Linked DNA regions of Homo sapiens: region 1 is linked to region 2. Evidence: promoter capture Hi-C in 16 types of primary human blood cells and fetal thymus (Javierre and others, 2016). All regions are on one chromosome and are shown on one strand. The core of a region is centred on a gene start or on the middle of the fragment in contact, and the rest is flanking DNA. Distances in the headings are between cores, read along the strand shown. Region 1 holds the start of KLK1 (kallikrein 1). Region 2 holds the start of SMIM47 (small integral membrane protein 47).

Region 1 (3,666 bases), core at 448-2,947, 38 kb before region 2:
AGCGGCTTGAAGCAGGGCTCCATTCATTCAACACACATGACCACCCGTGTGATCTTGAACAAGAGGCCCAATCTCACTTCGCCTTGGTTTCCTTATCTGTAAAATGAGACCATCTTATTGCTGACTTCAAAGGGCTGTTGTGAGGATTAAATGAGATGATTCGTCTGAACTGATTAAAATCGTGTCTGGCACTGAGTAAATACCCTCTATCTCTGGATCCCAGTTAAAGGACCTAACAGACACTAGATTACCAAGAATGGCTTTTTCTTTAAGGTTTAGTTCTGGGCCGGGCATGGTGGCTCACACCTGTAATCCCAGCACTTTGGGAGGCCAAGGCGGGCGGCTCACTTGAGGTCAGGAGTGCAAGACCAGCCTGGCCAACATGGTGAAACCCCATCTCTACTAAAAATACTAAAAAAATTTAGCCGGGCGTGGTGGCACACGACTGTAATCCTAGCTACTTGGGAGGGTGATGTGGGAGGATCGCTTGAACTTAGGAGGCAGGAGTTGCAGTGAGCCGAGATCGCGCCACTGCACTCCAGCCTGGTGACAGAGCAAGACTCCATCTCAGAAAAAAAAAAAAAAAAAAAAAGATTTAGTTCTGGGCTTCCTGGTAGCCATGGCAAAAAGGCAAATACTGTCCTTTCCTTAGCCAGGTCCCTGATATACAGCAGAGGCTGGAACTCTGAGCTGCTTTGATTTTACCAAAAAGCCAAGACAACCTGTTGGAAGCCTATGGGTTTACCATTGAGGCTGCAGGAATCTAGTTCCTAATTATCTTCAGAGACCACAAAATGTGATGTTCAAGGTCGCTGAATGTTGAAGTACATGAACCTGGCTCGTGAGACCTAAATATTGTACTGGTGGTGGGGGGGAAGGGTCATTGGAATCTGTGGTTAGCCTGATCTTGACCTGGGAGGGAAGGTTGTCCAGATCTCTGGGACTTTGGAGGACAGGACGTTGAGCACCCATAACTGGGAGCAAGAAGTGGGAGGCTCATTGAGACCCCAGCATTGTTTGGGAGGGACACTGGATTTTGTAATGCTAAAGAACTTACCCTGGGAGACCCCTGAAACTTCACATTCCTGGATCTGGAGGCACTAGGAATGTGGTGATGTGTACCCCAAAATTTTATTATGAAAGGAACAGTAGCTTTGGGGACCTAGGTCCTGGGTCTGGGAGTGCAAGAACCAGGGCATTCTGAAGGCCAAGGCTTATATTTCAGGGGGAACTGGCAGCTGAGATGCTAGTATCTTGGCTCCGAGTGGTGCAGGGAATCAGAGCCCTAACTGCTGGTGTTTGAGGGCACCAGGTCTGGGGGTGCAGGGCCTTAATTGAGACTGAGGTATATGGGGCTTTGTACCAGGGGTCACTGATTCCTCCGTCTTCCTGTTTCTGCTTCCCCTCAGTCCCCCCTTGCCTCACTGGCTGCTCCCCAGAGCAAAGCCCCAGAGCCACAGGCCCTGCCCCACCTGGCTTCAACCCCAGGAATGCGTCCAGCGTGATCCAGGGCCTGCAGAACAGGTGCTGGTTCTCCCTCCCCGTCTACAGCTCTGGGGATCGGAGGGGGGGGGGGCAATTGTCCAGCCCCCAGGCAACAGGGGAAGGGCCTTGGCCAACATCTGGGTGCCAGCAGGGCAGGGGTGGGGCTCTGAGGGGATAAGGGCTTTTAAAAGCCTCCCCAGGGAGGTTCCCCAGTTCCTCCACCTGCTGGCCCCTGGACACCTCTGTCACCATGTGGTTCCTGGTTCTGTGCCTCGCCCTGTCCCTGGGGGGGACTGGTGAGACAGTGGGGGGATGTGGGAGGGGGAACGGGCCCTGATTCTCTTGCTGGCCTCACATCCCCCCCCGATAAGACCTTCCCCTCCAACACCCCACCCTCATCCCTCTGGCCCACAGTCTATCCTAGTCCGGGGTGCCCCGGCTCTTATCTATCTTGCGCGGCCCCACCCTAAACTTCCACCCCCGCTCCTCCATGTTGTCATAGTGCTCACTCCCACACCAGATTCCTGCTCCTCCCAGGAAGCCTCAGTACTTTCTCCTCTTCCCTAGCCAACGCCCTGTCCCACCGCTTTACCAAAGGGGCAGATTCTGGGCCATCTCTGTCTCTCTCTGGAGGACCCCAACCCTCCCATGGGCTTCCCCCACCCCACAGGACTCTGATCATCCCCTCCTGCCCCCTAGTTCCCTGCGGCCACCTATTTGGCTCCTGAGTCTACAAATCCCACCACACTCCAGTGACTTTTTCCATCCAGCTGTCCGCTCTCAACTGTGTCCTCCAGACCCTGACATCTGGTCTCCCCAGTCCTTCCAGGGTCCCCCAAATTTCACCAGAAAACCCTGCTTCCCAAACTGGCATGTGGGATCCCCCATCTGGTATGGGGGGGGGTCTGCAAATGTCCCTTCCCACCCAGCACCCCCAGCTCTCCCAGGAAAAACACCACACCCTCCCACCACATGCTCCTTTCCTTGGGGAAGTTCCATCCCGCCCCAGGCCCCAGCCCTTCTCTGCCTGAATTGTTCCTACACAGCTCTGGTTTTCTGGAACCCCACCCCAAGGATCCTGAATGCCTTCTCAGCCAGCGCTTCTGCCCTGGCCTCCCCCAAGTCAGTATGTGATTCTACAACCTCACGTCAAGTGGGTCCTGCATTGCATTCCCACAGCTGCTTGGCGCCTGTTCTCACCACTTCTCCAATCCTCTTCCTAGGATTGCCTCCAAGAGGACCCCATATCCTTCCAGTACCCTCAGACCATGAACCCCATCCCCATGAGAAACGAAGATCCCATCCTTCACCCTGTCCGAGAAGGACTGCCACTCACGCCTCCCTCCTCCTGAGCCCCGTCCCAGTCCTGACCGCAACTGTGTTCTCAGGGCCCCAACCTCCCCTCAGATTGCCATTCCTGGTTCACAGGAAGGACCCCAAAACCTCTCGGAAGCCCACCTCTAGCCTTAACCATAGCCCTTTCTTTTACCCTTTAACCAGGAAGCCCTGAAATCTAACTGTCCCAGCCAAGCTGGCCCCTTCCAACCCCAATGTAGGGACCCCAAGTCACCCCCAAACTCTTCAGTCCAGATGCTCTTCTTTACCTCTCAGACCTGGTTCCCTAAAGCTGCATCCTTTCCTGAACCTCAAAAGCCCAACCCAGGTCCTGTTTCCCTAGCCTAGGAGCCCCTTAGCCCTCCAGATTCTTCCTCAGTGAGCCTCTGATCCTGTCCCACCCTTGGCGCCTTGATCCCTGGTTTCCAGAATCCCTTTCCACTCCCCTAACCCACCACCTCCCATCCCCCAGCCCCAGACCCCAAATGACCTGACGCCCAGATGCAGTGTCTGCTCCAGACACTGTCTCCTGTCTCCTACCCTGATCCCTGGAGGCTGCTCTACTGTCAGAGCACAAAATCTCCCCACCAGGTCCAGCCACCACTCCAAAAGCCCAGGGAACAGTCCAGAGTCCCACCCCTTCCCAACACCCCTTGCCCATGTCCCCAACCTCCAGCCCTGGTCCTCTACCCGCAATGTCCCTTCAGACCCACAGCCCAGCTCCCTCTCCTAGCCTTGTCCCTGGCCTCTCCTGCCAACCCTGCCCTTCCTGACCCAGCACCGCCTCTGCAGGTGCTGCGCCCCCGATTCAGTCCCGGATTGTGGGAGGCTGGGAGTGTGAGCAGC
Region 2 (3,938 bases), core at 818-3,317:
CTTGAGCCTGAAGTCGAGGCTGCAGTGAGCCCTGATTCTGTCACTCCACTCCATCCTGGACGACAGAGTGAAACCTGATGTTTAAATGCAGTTTTTCATGTATGTACTTCTTACCAAAATGAGATCATACAGAACCTGCAATTTTGTAACCTGCGTCTTTCAGTTAACCTCCTCTTCTCCTTGGCAGTAGTGCTTTCGTCTTGTCTGATACCCATTCCCTATTCAAATGTCCCTCCGTTTCTCCCCAAAGAGACTTTGTCTTGTTTTGTTTTTTGAGACAGGATCTCACTCTGTCACACAGGCTGGTGTGCTGTGGTACGATCTCGGCTCACTGCAACCTCTGCCTCCTGGGTTCTGATGATTCTCGTGCCTGAGCCTCCTGAGTAGCTGGGACTATAGGTGCACACCACTGCACCTGGCTAATTTTTGTATTTTTAGTAGAGACAGGGTTTCACCATGTTGGCCAGGCTGGTCTCAAACTCCTGACCTCAGGTGATCCGCCCACCTCGGCCTCCACCCACAAAGAGCCTTTATAACTTGTTTTGTCCAAGCCAAAACCCGGTCCAGGATCACCCCTCAAAGCTGGTCTTGTGTCTCTTAACGGATTTTTTTCAAATATAGCAAGGCTACTTGCTTTTGTTTTGCACTGTGGCATGGATTTGTTGGAGAGACGGTGCCGTTTGCTCTGCAGAATGTGTTGCCTTCTGGAATGTTCTGGGTAGTGCCGTGAGGTACCGTGTTTACAATCAATTCTTGTTATTCATAGTAGCGATGTTGTATAACTGTGACCACTGAATCAGCAAATAAGGACCCATTGCTTCATTAATAAAAGTATATATTTTTCTATTTATTTTCTATTTATTTATTTATTTTTATTTATTATTATTATTTTGAGATGGAGTCTCGCTCTGTTGCCCAGGCTAGAGTGCAGTGGCACAATCTCGGCTCAATTTAACCTCCTCCGCCTGGGGTTCAAGTGTTGCTGGTGCCTCAGCCTCCCAAATAGCTGGGACTACAGGCGTGCACCACCATGCCCGGCTAATTTTTTTGTTTTTTTGTTTTTTAGTAGAGATGGAGTTTCGCCATGTTGGCCAGGCTGGTCTCAAACTCCTGACCTCAGGTGATCCTCCCGCCCCGGCCTCCCAAAGTGTTGGGAAAACAGGTGTGAGCCACCGGCACCTGGCCTATATTTATATATATTTAAAGAGATGGGGTCTTACAATGTTGCCCAGGCTGGCCTTGAACTCCTGGGCTCAAGCAATTCTACTGTCTCACTTAACCAAAGTGTTGGGATTACAAGCATGAGCCACTGCACCCAACCCTATATATATGTGTTTGTGTGTGTGTGTGTGTGTGTGTGTGTGTGTGTGTGTGTATACATATACACACACACACATATATTTCCCCAATAAGTGTTCACAGTTGTACAACATAACTACCAAAAATAGCGAGACTATATCTGCCACAAATAACGCAAATAGCTACCTGAGTAGCAGATTGTATAGTCCCCATTTTTGTGGTAGCGATAGATAGGTAAATAGGTATCTCACAAATGTATCATATGTATTTTATTTTATTTTTTCTTAGTTGTTAGTTGTGGAGACAGGATCTCACTCTTGCCCAGGCTGGAGTGCAGTGGCGTGATCTTGGCTCATGGCAGCCTCAACCCCCTGGGCTCAAGTGATCCTCCCATCTGGAGGAGGAAATTTTGCCTGGGCCTCCCTTACTGTTCTCCTGGCCTGCAGGCTCCTGTTTTGAGATATTTCTATACCCAGAACTGACCTGGTCCCTCCCCTGCTCTCAACCCTCTCATGGCTCCCCAGCACCCTCCGGGGCAAAACCCAAACACCTCAGTATGGTGTTCAGGGTTGAGACTCTCCAATCTCACACGTCCCGATGTCACATTCAGACACCACATGTGGCGGGCCACACCAGGGTCTGTATCTGCCCTATGCCCCTGCCTGTCCCCTCTACCAGAATGCCCTTTCCCCGTTGCCATGGCCACCATTCTGGTCTCTCCGACAACCCCCTCTCGGAGTTCCAGTGGCTTCTCCCCCCTCTGGCTCAGAGGCCCAGGAAAGAGAGAGAAGACCAACCAAGGGGTGGCTGGAGTCCCAAGGCCATGAACTTTCAGGAAGTGAGGAGGGGTCTGGCAGGGAAGGGAGGCCTGGGGCTGGGCAGAGGGCAGGGAGGGGAAGGGTCCTGACCTCTGATCTCCCCCCCAGAATGTGACCCTGGCCATGGCCTTGTTCACCATCCTGACCTCCATCTATTTCTTCAACAAGGTGAGCGGGAGAAGAGCGGAGGTGGGGGCTGAGTCTCTGTCTCCCTGGTCCAGTTCTGTCATCTTGGTCTCTCTTTCTCTCCCACATCTCTGTATATGTCCCTGTTTTCCTCTCTCAGGCTCAGCAGTGAGAAGACACAGGACCTCCCCGCACAAGAGCCCTGCCTCTCCCTCTGCCATCGCTCTGAGGCCAGATAAATGTAACTGAATCCGCACATCCTGCTCCGCCGACCCACTGCCCTTGCGCCCGGCCTCGGGCCTACACCACACCTGGGGCTCTGTGTTTCAGAAGGGAGTGGGGTGGGGGTCCGGACTCCAGGGTCTGAGGTAGGAGAGTGGTGAGGACCCACCCTCGCAGGTTTGAGGCTAGGAGCTGGGAATCTGCGCTGGGTTTTCAGGGATGAGTAGGAGTCTGTGGGGAAATTCCAAGAAGAGGAAGAACATTTCAACCTGGTGTAAGGGCACAGAGGGAAGAACAAGCAGGGCACATTGAGCACCCGGCACCAACACAGGCTGCTGTGTACTTCGGATTTGTTATTTCCCTTGATCCCGTGATTTCTTCTCCATCAGACAAAGGCGAAAATCTTTGTCCAATGGGCCCCAAAAAACCACAGCCAGGGCAGCCAGAGATCCAAAATGTGAATGCACTTTGTCAGCTGCAGTGGGTCTGTAGTTATCGTCATCATCTTCATCACTGTCATACTGTATCAACACATCTTCCTCTTTTTTCTTTTCTTTTTGAGATGAGATCTCACTCTATTGCCCAGGCTAGAGTGCAGTGGTATGATCATAGCTCACTGCAACCCTGAACTCCCAGGCTCAAGCAGTCCTCCTGCCTCAGCCTCCTGAGTAGCTGGGACTGTAGGTGTTCACCACCATGCCCAGCTAACTTTTTAATTTTTTTTAGAGACAGGGTCTCACTATGTCACCCAAGCTGGTCTCTAACTCCTGGCCTCAAGCAATCCTCCTACCTCAGCCTCCCAAAGTGTTGGAATTACAGGTGTGAGCCACTGTGCTCAGCCTCTTTTCTTAACAAACTCCTATTTAACCTTCAACACCCACCAGCAATGTCCCTTCCTATAAAAATGTGCAGACCCGCCCCCACAGGCAGTTCGCTAGCAGCCCCCTTGCTTAGCGCCCTTCCCCCACCCCCTGCCTCTACCTCCAGCATCCTCAGGTCAATGCCCTGGGGGACACTTCCACCTTCAATTGCATTTCACCTACCTTCTCATCTAGTCAAAAGCAATTTCATTTCAGCTCAATATCTGAAAAGCCAGCTTTGGAGTAGGGTTGACTGCACGTGCTAGGTTTTCCTGAAAAAGCCCAACAAATTTCCTTCCATCCCTCCCTTCCTTCCTTCCTTCCTTCCTTCCTTCCTTCCTTCCTTCTTCCCAGAGTTTTGCTCTTGTTGCCCAGGCTGGAGTGCAACAGTGCAATCTCAGCTCACTGCAACCTCCACCTCCTGGGTTCAAGCAATTTTCCTGCCTCAGCCTCCCGAGTAGCTGGGATTACAGGCATGCGCCACCACGCCTGGCTAATTTTGTATTTTTAGTAGAGATGGGGTTTCTCCATGTTGGTCAGGCTGGTCTCGAACTCCCAACGTCAGGTGATCCACCTGCCCCAGCCTCCCAAAGTACTGGGATTACAGGCATGA

Evidence for each region. The method cuts DNA at HindIII sites, captures the fragments that hold promoters and counts their contacts. A CHiCAGO score of 5 or more calls a contact.
Region 1: the fragment with the promoter of KLK1 here is called in contact with the fragment with the promoter of SMIM47 in region 2 in 2 of 17 cell types (activated CD4 T cells and neutrophils); the score reaches 6.6 in activated CD4 T cells.

Annotation. Positions count from the first base shown.
Region 1 is chr19:50,821,818-50,825,483 of GRCh38, reverse strand. It overlaps KLK1 (kallikrein 1), which reads left to right and starts at 1,697. Exons shown (of 5, transcript NM_002257.4): 1 at 1,697-1,781; 2 at 3,613-3,666. The coding sequence starts at 1,736. It overlaps KLK15 (kallikrein related peptidase 15), which reads left to right. Exons shown (of 6, transcript NM_017509.4): 6 at 1-195. The HindIII fragment of the contact is 16,614 bases long and covers 1-3,666 here.
Region 2 is chr19:50,784,289-50,788,226 of GRCh38, reverse strand. SMIM47 (small integral membrane protein 47) reads left to right here and starts at 2,067. Exons shown (of 3, transcript NM_001384597.1): 1 at 2,067-2,137; 2 at 2,226-2,285; 3 at 2,404-2,499. The coding sequence starts at 2,123. The coding sequence ends at 2,415. LOC105372439 (a long non-coding RNA gene) reads left to right here. Exons shown (of 4, transcript XR_936026.3): 4 at 1-846. The HindIII fragment of the contact is 13,889 bases long and covers 1-3,938 here.